3 separate regions of the Homo sapiens genome follow, and regions 1 and 3 are each linked to region 2. Evidence: promoter capture Hi-C in 16 types of primary human blood cells and fetal thymus (Javierre and others, 2016). All regions are on one chromosome and are shown on one strand. Each heading gives the region's core, a stretch centred on a gene start or on the middle of the fragment in contact. The rest is flanking DNA. Distances are from core to core; before and after follow the strand shown. Region 1 holds the start of CLOCK (clock circadian regulator). Region 2 holds the start of DANCR (differentiation antagonizing non-protein coding RNA). Region 3 holds the start of TMEM165 (transmembrane protein 165).

Region 1 (2,700 bases), core at 50-2,549, 2.8 Mb before region 2:
GCCTTCCCCTTGTGTCCTGCTCAGACCATATGGACTGAGAGTGGATAAATGATAGTTCTTCAAAAGAAATTATCAGAATAGGGAATGAATGCTGAACAGGCAAAAATGTCGACCAAAATATCTTCTGCTATATGATGGGGTAAATTAACAAATCATGTTTTCCCACTCCTGAAAGAAAAATCCTTAGGTGCAGGATCAAGGATCTGAATAAGTGCTTCAGTTTGATGTTCTTTTGCCCAGAGCATACAGCAAGAATTGAAAATGTTTACTGAGGTGACTGTTACTTTAAAGGGAGGATTTTACGGCCAGAAAAGTGCATTTTTTGAAAGAAAAAGATGGCTTTTATTTCAAATCCAAAAGATATTCATTAAAACATAGGAATTACTAGGAATTAAGACTGTAAAGATCTCTTTTCCAGTAGAAGCACTGAAATGTGCTTTCTCATGTGGACCAAATGTGCCTTAACGCATCAAGATAAGTAATTTCCCGAAGATAAGTAGTAGTCACACGTTGTTCCAACGAGGAAATCCATGCAAATTAGGGTCCTGGTTTATTTCTGATGCTTCATTCTCCATCTTCCATTACACTGTCACTTGATTTTTAATAAAAGGGCAAGGGAAAAATCTCCAAATGAGCAAATAAATCCCGACCTCCTTTCGCTTCCCTCCTCTGGCCGAGGGCGCATGCCCTGTCTCCCCAGGCCCACCCACCAAGAAGAAGCAACCCAAGCCGCGCTCCCTCAGGAGATGGGAGAAGATGTTACTGGCGGTCCAGGCGCCTTTGCAACTCTTCTCTCCCAGCACCAGGAGAGGAAACACGAATGATGCCACTGGGGGAAAAAGTCTCCTGCCAACACCCGAAAAATCTAAGCTGGCGTCGGCAGTGTTTTGCTTTGGAAGGGAGAGCGGGTTCCTTTTCTGGCCTCTGGATCCCTCATCCGGCAGGAAGCTCTTCTTCCTCCTCCTAGCCCCCGGCATACGGGGGGAAAGCCAAAGAGCCTCCAGGACCTAAGGCTAGCGCTCTGCCGGCCGGCCGCGCCCTCCACCCGACCAGGCCCCGCCTCCCCGGCTTTCTAGTAACCGGCGCCGTTCCCGGCCGGGGCAGGGAACGGTGCGCCTGCAGAGCCAGATTTCGGCCCAAGGGGCGCGGGAGTCTCTTCGGGCGTCCGGGATCCCCTGGCGCGGCTCCGTGCTGCCTAACGGGGCAAGTCGCATGCGCACCGAGCCGCGCTGGGGAAAGGGAGAGTGAGGGGAGGGGCGAGCGCAGAGCCTCCGCCGGCCGTCTGAGCCCGCGGGGTCGCTGACGACGCATGCGCCGGGAGGGGGCGCAATCACGGACTCGGCTTGCGGCTGCCGGTTTAAAAAAGGAAACCCCGGAGAGCGAGAGCGCGAAGGAAATCTGGCCGCCGCCGCCGCGAGCGCTCCCGGTGAGAGGCGCCCGCCCGGTGGGCCCAGGGCCTGCCGAGTGCCGGTTGGCTTCCTTGGCGGCGCATGCGCGCTCCTGGGCTGGTGGAGGAGGGGAAGGGAAGGGAGGGGGAGGAGGAGCTGGCCACAGGAGCGGCGAATTTTTGGGGGGGTGGGTGGGGGGCGCCACTCACAGCCCCAGGTGCTGCTGGAGGTGGGAGCCGCGGCGCCTCCTGGACACAGGCGGGGTAGTGGTTCCGAGTCACCGCAGCGGGAGACCTGGGTGGGGGAGGGAAGAAGCCGGAGCCGCCGCAAGCCACACGGTGAGGGCGCGGGGAAGGGGAGGGAGCGGGGGGCGGCGTGTGTGGGGCCGGGGGGCGGCGGCCAAGGGTGGGGAAGGCGGGAGCTGAAGCCCAAGTTTGGCGTGTCGTTCTAGTGTGTCTTTTCCCGGGACTTCGGGCCGAGGCCCGCCCTGCCTGAGAGGCCCTCTGGGGCAGCTGGGGTTACCTGCGGGGCAGGGGCGGGAGTGGGGTGCACGGCGGGGCCGGGCGGCTTGAGGGCGCCCGGAGCTGCGGCCGATTCCAGCAGCTGGGAGGCGGGGAAAGACGGGGACCGGGTGCCGAGAGAGCTTTCGCTGGGGACCCGCTAGGCCTTGTGACCCACTTTATTCCTGTCACCACTCGGGCACGTTTGGAGCAGCGCCCAATGGGGCGCCGGGGCGGCCAGCTCCTCCGGGGAACCCCCGCCCTCCCGGCGCCCGGCCCGCGTGCCGCAGTCCGCAGTCCGAACGGCCGCCGTTGCCGGCCGCGGGCTGGTTCCGTTAGTGGTGGTGGTTCCGGGGTTCCGTTCCTAGGCAGCGCGCGGCTATTAGCGTCTGACTCCAGCGACCGCGCGCGGGTTCGAGGGTTGGCGGCGAGGCGCTCGGTTTCTCTTCTTCCGTCCACCCGCGCTTCCCGTTCCCCGTCACCGCCGCTGGCGTTTGTAGATTTCTTTCCGCCAGTGAAGCTGGGTTTTCTGGAGTTGGCTCTGGCGCTCTGGCCCCTGGAGTGTAATTTCCTACACGCAGCGCCGCAGAGTTTATATTCTTTGAAAGTGTTTGTAGCTTTGTAGAGGTCCTCTTGTTGATGGTAGGTGAGCCTAATTCTGCAAGATAAAAGCCTAGTCTCTGACCTGGCAGATGAAAGATCAAATCAGATTGTGGTTTCCTGCTATTAGAATGCCGTGCTATTAGACTTTAAGGCTTTTTAGCCTTCTTTAAAAAATAAAAAAATTTTTACAGTGGAAGAAAAGCACAAGA
Region 2 (2,700 bases), core at 3-2,502:
CACGGACACGTGGTTGCTACAAGTTAGTACGCATATTTGGCCTTATTAGAGGCACTTTCCTATTGTAACTGAAGGGATAGTTGGCTTAAGTCAATTGAAATACCAGCAACAGGACATTCCAGCTTCAATGGCTTGTGCCTGTAGTTGTCAACCTATAGAAAGAAAAGTTTTAAAATGACGTTTTAACCAAAGAAAACTGAAATGTATTGCTTGTTCTATAAACTGTAAAGAAAATCACAAAGGCGCTCAAGTTGTAACGAAACTTTTTCTGGTTCAGTTGTGACTCCAGACAGGATCCAAAGAGGAGCTTTCCAGTCTCTTCTCTGGGTTTTATGGAGACTTACTTTACCCTTCTGTGTTAGCCTCTTAAAGCACTGGGTCAACCTTAAAAGGGCACAGGAAAGGGTGCTTTGTGATTTTTTTTCTTTGATTTTTACAGGGTTCACTACTATTTTCCGCGTTGCTCTCAATACCTCGTGGATCTCTGCTTCTCTAAGTCTGAAACCACACTAGAAACACAGCTGTTTTGTTTGGTGAGCCCCTACATGGATGTTTCCTTCCAGTTAAGGGGAGCCGGATTCGGACCTTGGCGACAAACAGACGCCGGGGAACCCTCCGGTCCCACTGGCCACGTGCTCCAGGCTGACTCATTCCTTCCCCCACCCCGCTCAAGGCTAGGAACATACCTGCGCTAAGAACTGAGGCAGCTGCACTTCCGCAGACGTAAGAGACGAACTCCTGGAGCTCAAGGTCGGCTGGGGTTGGGTTCCTGTCCCGCACGCGTGGCCCGCCCGAAACCCGCTACATAGTGGCGCGTCAGCCCTGGGGAAGCAAAGCGCAAAATTGTTACGGTGCCCAGACCTGCGCCGGGAACCTCCGGCTGTTCCGCTGGGCGCGGCGCCTGTGCCTCGCGCAGCCCCGGGACGGGCACCGCCGCCCGCCCCCCGGGCCGCCGAGGGCTGCTCTACCCCTCCGTTCTGGCCGCCGGGAGCAGAGGAGCTCGAGGCGGGCAAAGCTCGTGGGGACACCGGGCGAGCCCAGCCCCTGATCGGACCCACGGGCCGGCCGGGCGCCCTCCCCGCGGGAGACCGAAAGCCGAAGACTGGAGATGCACTCACCGCGCAACTCCAGCTGACAAAGAGGCCTGCGACCTGCGACGGGCGCACAAACCAGAGAGGCGGCGCGGGGCGGGGAGGGAAGCAGGAGGGTCGCGAGGCCCGCAGCCAATCCCGGGAAGACTCTGGGCAAGGGCGGGGCGCGCAGCCGATCCCCTGGAGAGGTCGGGTAGCTCAGCCAATCCCGGGAAGATCCTGAGCGGGGCGGGGTGGAGGGCCGCGGCACGCACAGCCAATCCCGGATGGGGCGGGACGGGCCCGGCCATTGGCTGTCGGTGTCCGGGGCCGGCCTAGGTGTGGCTCATGCAGTAGCACGGGGATAAGCCATGTCTGCGCGCGGAGCATCCTTCTCTGAATTAGATTTTTCAGGCTACCTACCAATCCCCGGCGTTGGTGATTTTGGTGCTCTTGGGCCCTAGACCCTTCCTCGGGTGCCCTTCTGGAGAGGGCATCGAGGTTACTCCAGGGTTGGCCTAAGGCCCTGGGATTCCCTTTCTTAAAGCCACACTAATCCGGTGTGTGTTCATCATCTGTGTCCGCCTAAACCGTAAGCTTAAAGAGAAGCCACGACCATGTCTTGTTCAACAAGCTCACTCCCGTGGCCTCTCCTAAAGCTAGAAGGACTACCTCCTTTCCTCATGCTCCCTCTTTATTCATTTACAGAGTCCAATAAGTAGACCATAATCAGCTGGAGGGTAGGAGTTGGGGAGGTTGAGAAGGCAACCATAGCAATCTCAAGGTAACAGGCTCAAACTTGGCAAACAAATAAGTAGAAGAAAATTGGAGTATATGCTAAAAGGAGAACTTCTATTGCTGTTTCACGTACTTACCATCTGCTAACAAATCTAATCCTCAAAATATATTTAATCATCTCCAAATTATAGATGGGGAAATAATTATGTTATGTAACTTGCCCAAAGTCACAGAGCAGCTAGCCAGTGGTAGATCCAGGATTTGAACTCAAGCAGCCTGAAGGCAGAGCCCCTCAAACAACATGCTACCTAGCCTTTCCCCAGGTGTTGGGGGTGGAGCAGGAAGGGAAACCAAAAAATAGCCTACACTTGGTTAACAGATCAAGACAGGCAGCTCTGGTGGGGTGTGGCTTTGTAAACAGAAAGAACAACTCGTCCAGAGCCCCAAGATAAAACAGGAAAGGGCTTTACCTGTTTAAGGACTCCCAGAAATGGAACTTAAGGAGCAGAGTGGCCTGAGATGAGAATGGCTTGGGGCCAGACCATGCAGGAAACCCTGGAAGAGTTTTTTTGTTTTGTTTTGTTTTTGAGATGGAGTCTCGCTCTGTTGCCCAGACTGGAGTATAGTGGCACGATCTTGGCTCACTGCAGCCTCCACCTCCCAAGTTCAAACTATTCTCGTCTCGGCCTCCCGGGTAGTTGGGATTACAGGCATGCACCACCATGCCTGGTTAATTTTTGTATTTGTGAAAGAGTTTATACTTTGTGCTAAGAATGATGGAAAGCTGTTCAAGTGTTTTGTTTGTTTGTTGTGTGTGTGTGTGTGTGTTTTAACAGGGGAATGATAGGATCTGATGTAGGGTGTGGTTTCGGGTGTGATTAAGGTGGTTTTG
Region 3 (2,700 bases), core at 190-2,689, 2.7 Mb before region 2:
CCTTTAGCATATGAGCAAGAAAGCGGTGGCTAAAAAGCCTGGAGGTGAGCTGGAGCCAGATCAGAAGAAACCTGAACATCACTCTCCTAAAAAGGCTGGACTGAAATTAGTGGAGGCAACTCACCGACGACTTCTGACAAGATGGCAGAATTCAATGTTCGGGAAGATTAGTTACGTGGAGATGGGCTGGATGTGGCCTGGGTGGGAGTGGGGGTTTGAGTGCCACACTGGCCGGGATTCAGGGAGCAGATACTGGAAATGACGACAAAGCCCACGACTGGGAGAAGGGAGAAATGTTAAAACGCTGCCAAGTGACTAAGGACTAATTCTATTAACAGATTAAAAAGTTGATTTCTAGTATCTATTCAGGGAAGGACAAAATACAGGATTCTGTTTTACTTATAAATGTAGTTTTGGCATCCCACATCGCTGCAGCACGCTGTACTGCCGGAGACTAATTCCTCTGCGTTCCTAAAGGCTACTTCCTGCTAGCCAAAGCACATTTTTAAAAAGTGAGAGTCATGGTTCATAATCCATATTTGGCAAAAAGCACAGGCAGTGCCAAGTTGAATTTGGGTAAGCAGTTTGGCATAAGCTATTTCAACAATGAAATGGCCGATGTGATGATCCTCAGGGAATACAAAAAGCCTCCTAGCAGCCTTCTGTTAAAAACTTTTTGGTAGGGATGAGTCTTTCTAGCTACTCTAAGACACATCTGATCAATAAAACGCCCATCCCGGAGCAGCATCTTGGCCCTCCGGAGATCAACGTTTATAGCGGGCTCCTCTTGGACTCTCCCTCTCCCTTTCCCTAAAGGAGCGGGCAAGACCAGGCCTCACCGGAAAACAGCGCAGCCGACCGCCCTCCACCCCGGGAGCAGGGGCCGGGCTCCCCTCCCCCAGCCGAGGCCGGCGGAGTGCGGCGCTTTCAAAGGCCTGGAGCCTGGTACTCGGCGCAGCCGGCCCTGCAGCCTCGCTCGCCCCATCCCGGCCCGCTCACCTCGACCCGGGCCGGCTCGGGGCCCTGCACAGCCACAGGCTGCGGCTGCAGCTGCTGGGCCGGCGCCGGCGGTTCTTTGTTCCGGTGGCTAAGGTCTTCATCTGGGCCGGCCCGGACCGCAGCCGGGGCCCACAGCAGCGGAACCAGAAAGAGCAGAAGCAGCCGGGGCGCCGATGCGCGGCCGTTCCCTGGAGCCGCGGCCGCCATCCCGCCTGCCGGGCCGGCCGCGCACGGGCGCCGCAAGAGGAAGTGCCGGCGACGGGAAGCCTCGACCCCGAACAGCCTCCGCGGCGCGTCCTCACGACTCGCCGCCGCCGCCGCTTAGGGAGCAGTCAGCACCATCCGGGAGGTGCAAGCAGCGGGAGTGAGGTGAGGGGCAGGCCGAAGTCCGCAGCCCCGGCTCGGCGCCCGTCCTCTCCGGCGGCGGCTAAACTGGAGTCAGCCAGCTGCCTCGGCGCGGCCCAGCCCCGACTCCTCCCGGCCCCGTCCCTGCCCGCGACGGCCTCCCATTGGCCCGGCGACCGCCTTGGCGTCGTGACGTCCTCTGCCAGGTTGAGGTGCGGCGCGGGCCCTCCTCCCATTGGATCCGGCGCTCCCGGCAGGTACCCGGCGCCGCGTGTCCTTCCTCTGCTCGCATCCTCACCGCGCCGCGCCCGGGGCTCCCTTTCTCTCTCTGTGCCCCACCGTCCCAGGACTGCGAGGTCCTTCACTTCTGCTTCCTCCAGAGCCTTCCGCCGTAATGTCCGCACCCGCTGTTCCCTGCGCTTAGTCTCTCTTAGAGGTCAAATTAGTGCGAGCGCCTCTGGTTACGTGGCGCTGACTCGCAGGCACTGCCACGCCCAGCTCTGTTCCGCTCTCCCCCGCCGAGCCTCTGTGCCACCCTCCATGTGGCCACCTACCGCCAAAAACGTTCTTAGGAGCTCAAAATGCTATTTTTTTTTTAAAGTTCTGAAATGGGATTTGGAAATAACATGACATTTTTCAAGCCTTGTTTTAAGATACTGCCTATAATTACCCCAGACCAAAAATGGCTAACGTTGCCCTTGTCCAGTATGGCCTTGACGTTTTGGGTGCATCTTGTTTTGTGCTATTCCTTAGACCCTTTAAAAATGCTGGGCTTTTGAAATGGACTGTTTAAGACTTTTGCAGGATGGAGCTTTGAGTGGGCAAGACTAGAAGACAGGAAAGGATGGTCTTGAGTTAGGCTTGAGAATATTTTTACGTCTTCCCAAAAGAAAAAGTGAGCTACTTAATTACCATAAGTTTGAGACCTAGTCCCTAATAAAAATCGATAGTGCTAACCATGTGCCAGGCACTAATCTAATATTATACATATTTACATACAGTAAACCTGTACTCAGTAAAGAGCTAAGGAAGTTTATCACTAACTGAAACAAAAAATTAATCCACCAAAACAATCTGTGGGAAAGTGGGCAAACCTACTTTGAGTTCACCAAAGATACAGTGTTTGTCACAGGATAATAAAATTTCCGTCTGTTTTTTTGTTTTGTTGTTTTCTTTGTTTTTGTTTTTGAGACGGAGTTTCGCGCTTGTTGCTCAGGATGGAGTGCAATGGTGAGATCTCGGCCCACTGCAACCTCCTCCTCCCGGGTACAAGAGATTCTCCTGCCTCAGCTTCCCGAGTAGCTGGGATTACAGGCATGCTCCACCATACGCGGCTAACTTTGTAATTTTAGTAGA

Evidence for each region. The method cuts DNA at HindIII sites, captures the fragments that hold promoters and counts their contacts. A CHiCAGO score of 5 or more calls a contact.
Region 1: a contact is called between the fragment with the promoter of CLOCK here and the fragment with the promoter of DANCR in region 2, in 1 of 17 cell types (non-activated CD4 T cells). The highest score is 5.4, in non-activated CD4 T cells.
Region 3: the fragment with the promoter of TMEM165 here is called in contact with the fragment with the promoter of DANCR in region 2 in 1 of 17 cell types (naive CD8 T cells); the score reaches 5.2 in naive CD8 T cells.

The regions. Positions count from the first base shown.
Region 1 is chr4:55,545,508-55,548,207 of GRCh38, reverse strand. CLOCK (clock circadian regulator) reads left to right here and starts at 1,299. Exons shown (of 23, transcript NM_004898.4): 1 at 1,299-1,426. It overlaps LOC124900704 (a long non-coding RNA gene), which reads right to left and starts at 2,343. Exons shown (of 2, transcript XR_007058122.1): 1 at 1,598-2,343; 2 at 319-592. RefSeq lists silencers at 1,024-1,393, 1,454-1,553, 1,674-2,303. The HindIII fragment of the contact is 4,589 bases long and covers 1-2,700 here.
Region 2 is chr4:52,710,946-52,713,645 of GRCh38, reverse strand. It overlaps DANCR (differentiation antagonizing non-protein coding RNA), which reads right to left and starts at 1,252. Exons shown (of 5, transcript NR_145129.1): 1 at 1,119-1,252; 2 at 687-822; 3 at 104-152. MIR4449 (microRNA 4449) reads right to left here and starts at 964; the gene lies at 899-964. It overlaps SNORA26 (small nucleolar RNA, H/ACA box 26), which reads right to left and starts at 397; the gene lies at 276-397. RefSeq lists an enhancer at 569-618 and silencers at 869-1,438, 613-1,446. The HindIII fragment of the contact is 6,853 bases long and covers 1-1,669 here.
Region 3 is chr4:55,394,696-55,397,395 of GRCh38, reverse strand. It overlaps TMEM165 (transmembrane protein 165), which reads right to left and starts at 1,439. Exons shown (of 6, transcript NM_018475.5): 1 at 1,000-1,439. The coding sequence starts at 1,206. RefSeq lists silencers at 764-1,233, 1,434-1,633. The HindIII fragment of the contact is 4,477 bases long and covers 1-2,700 here.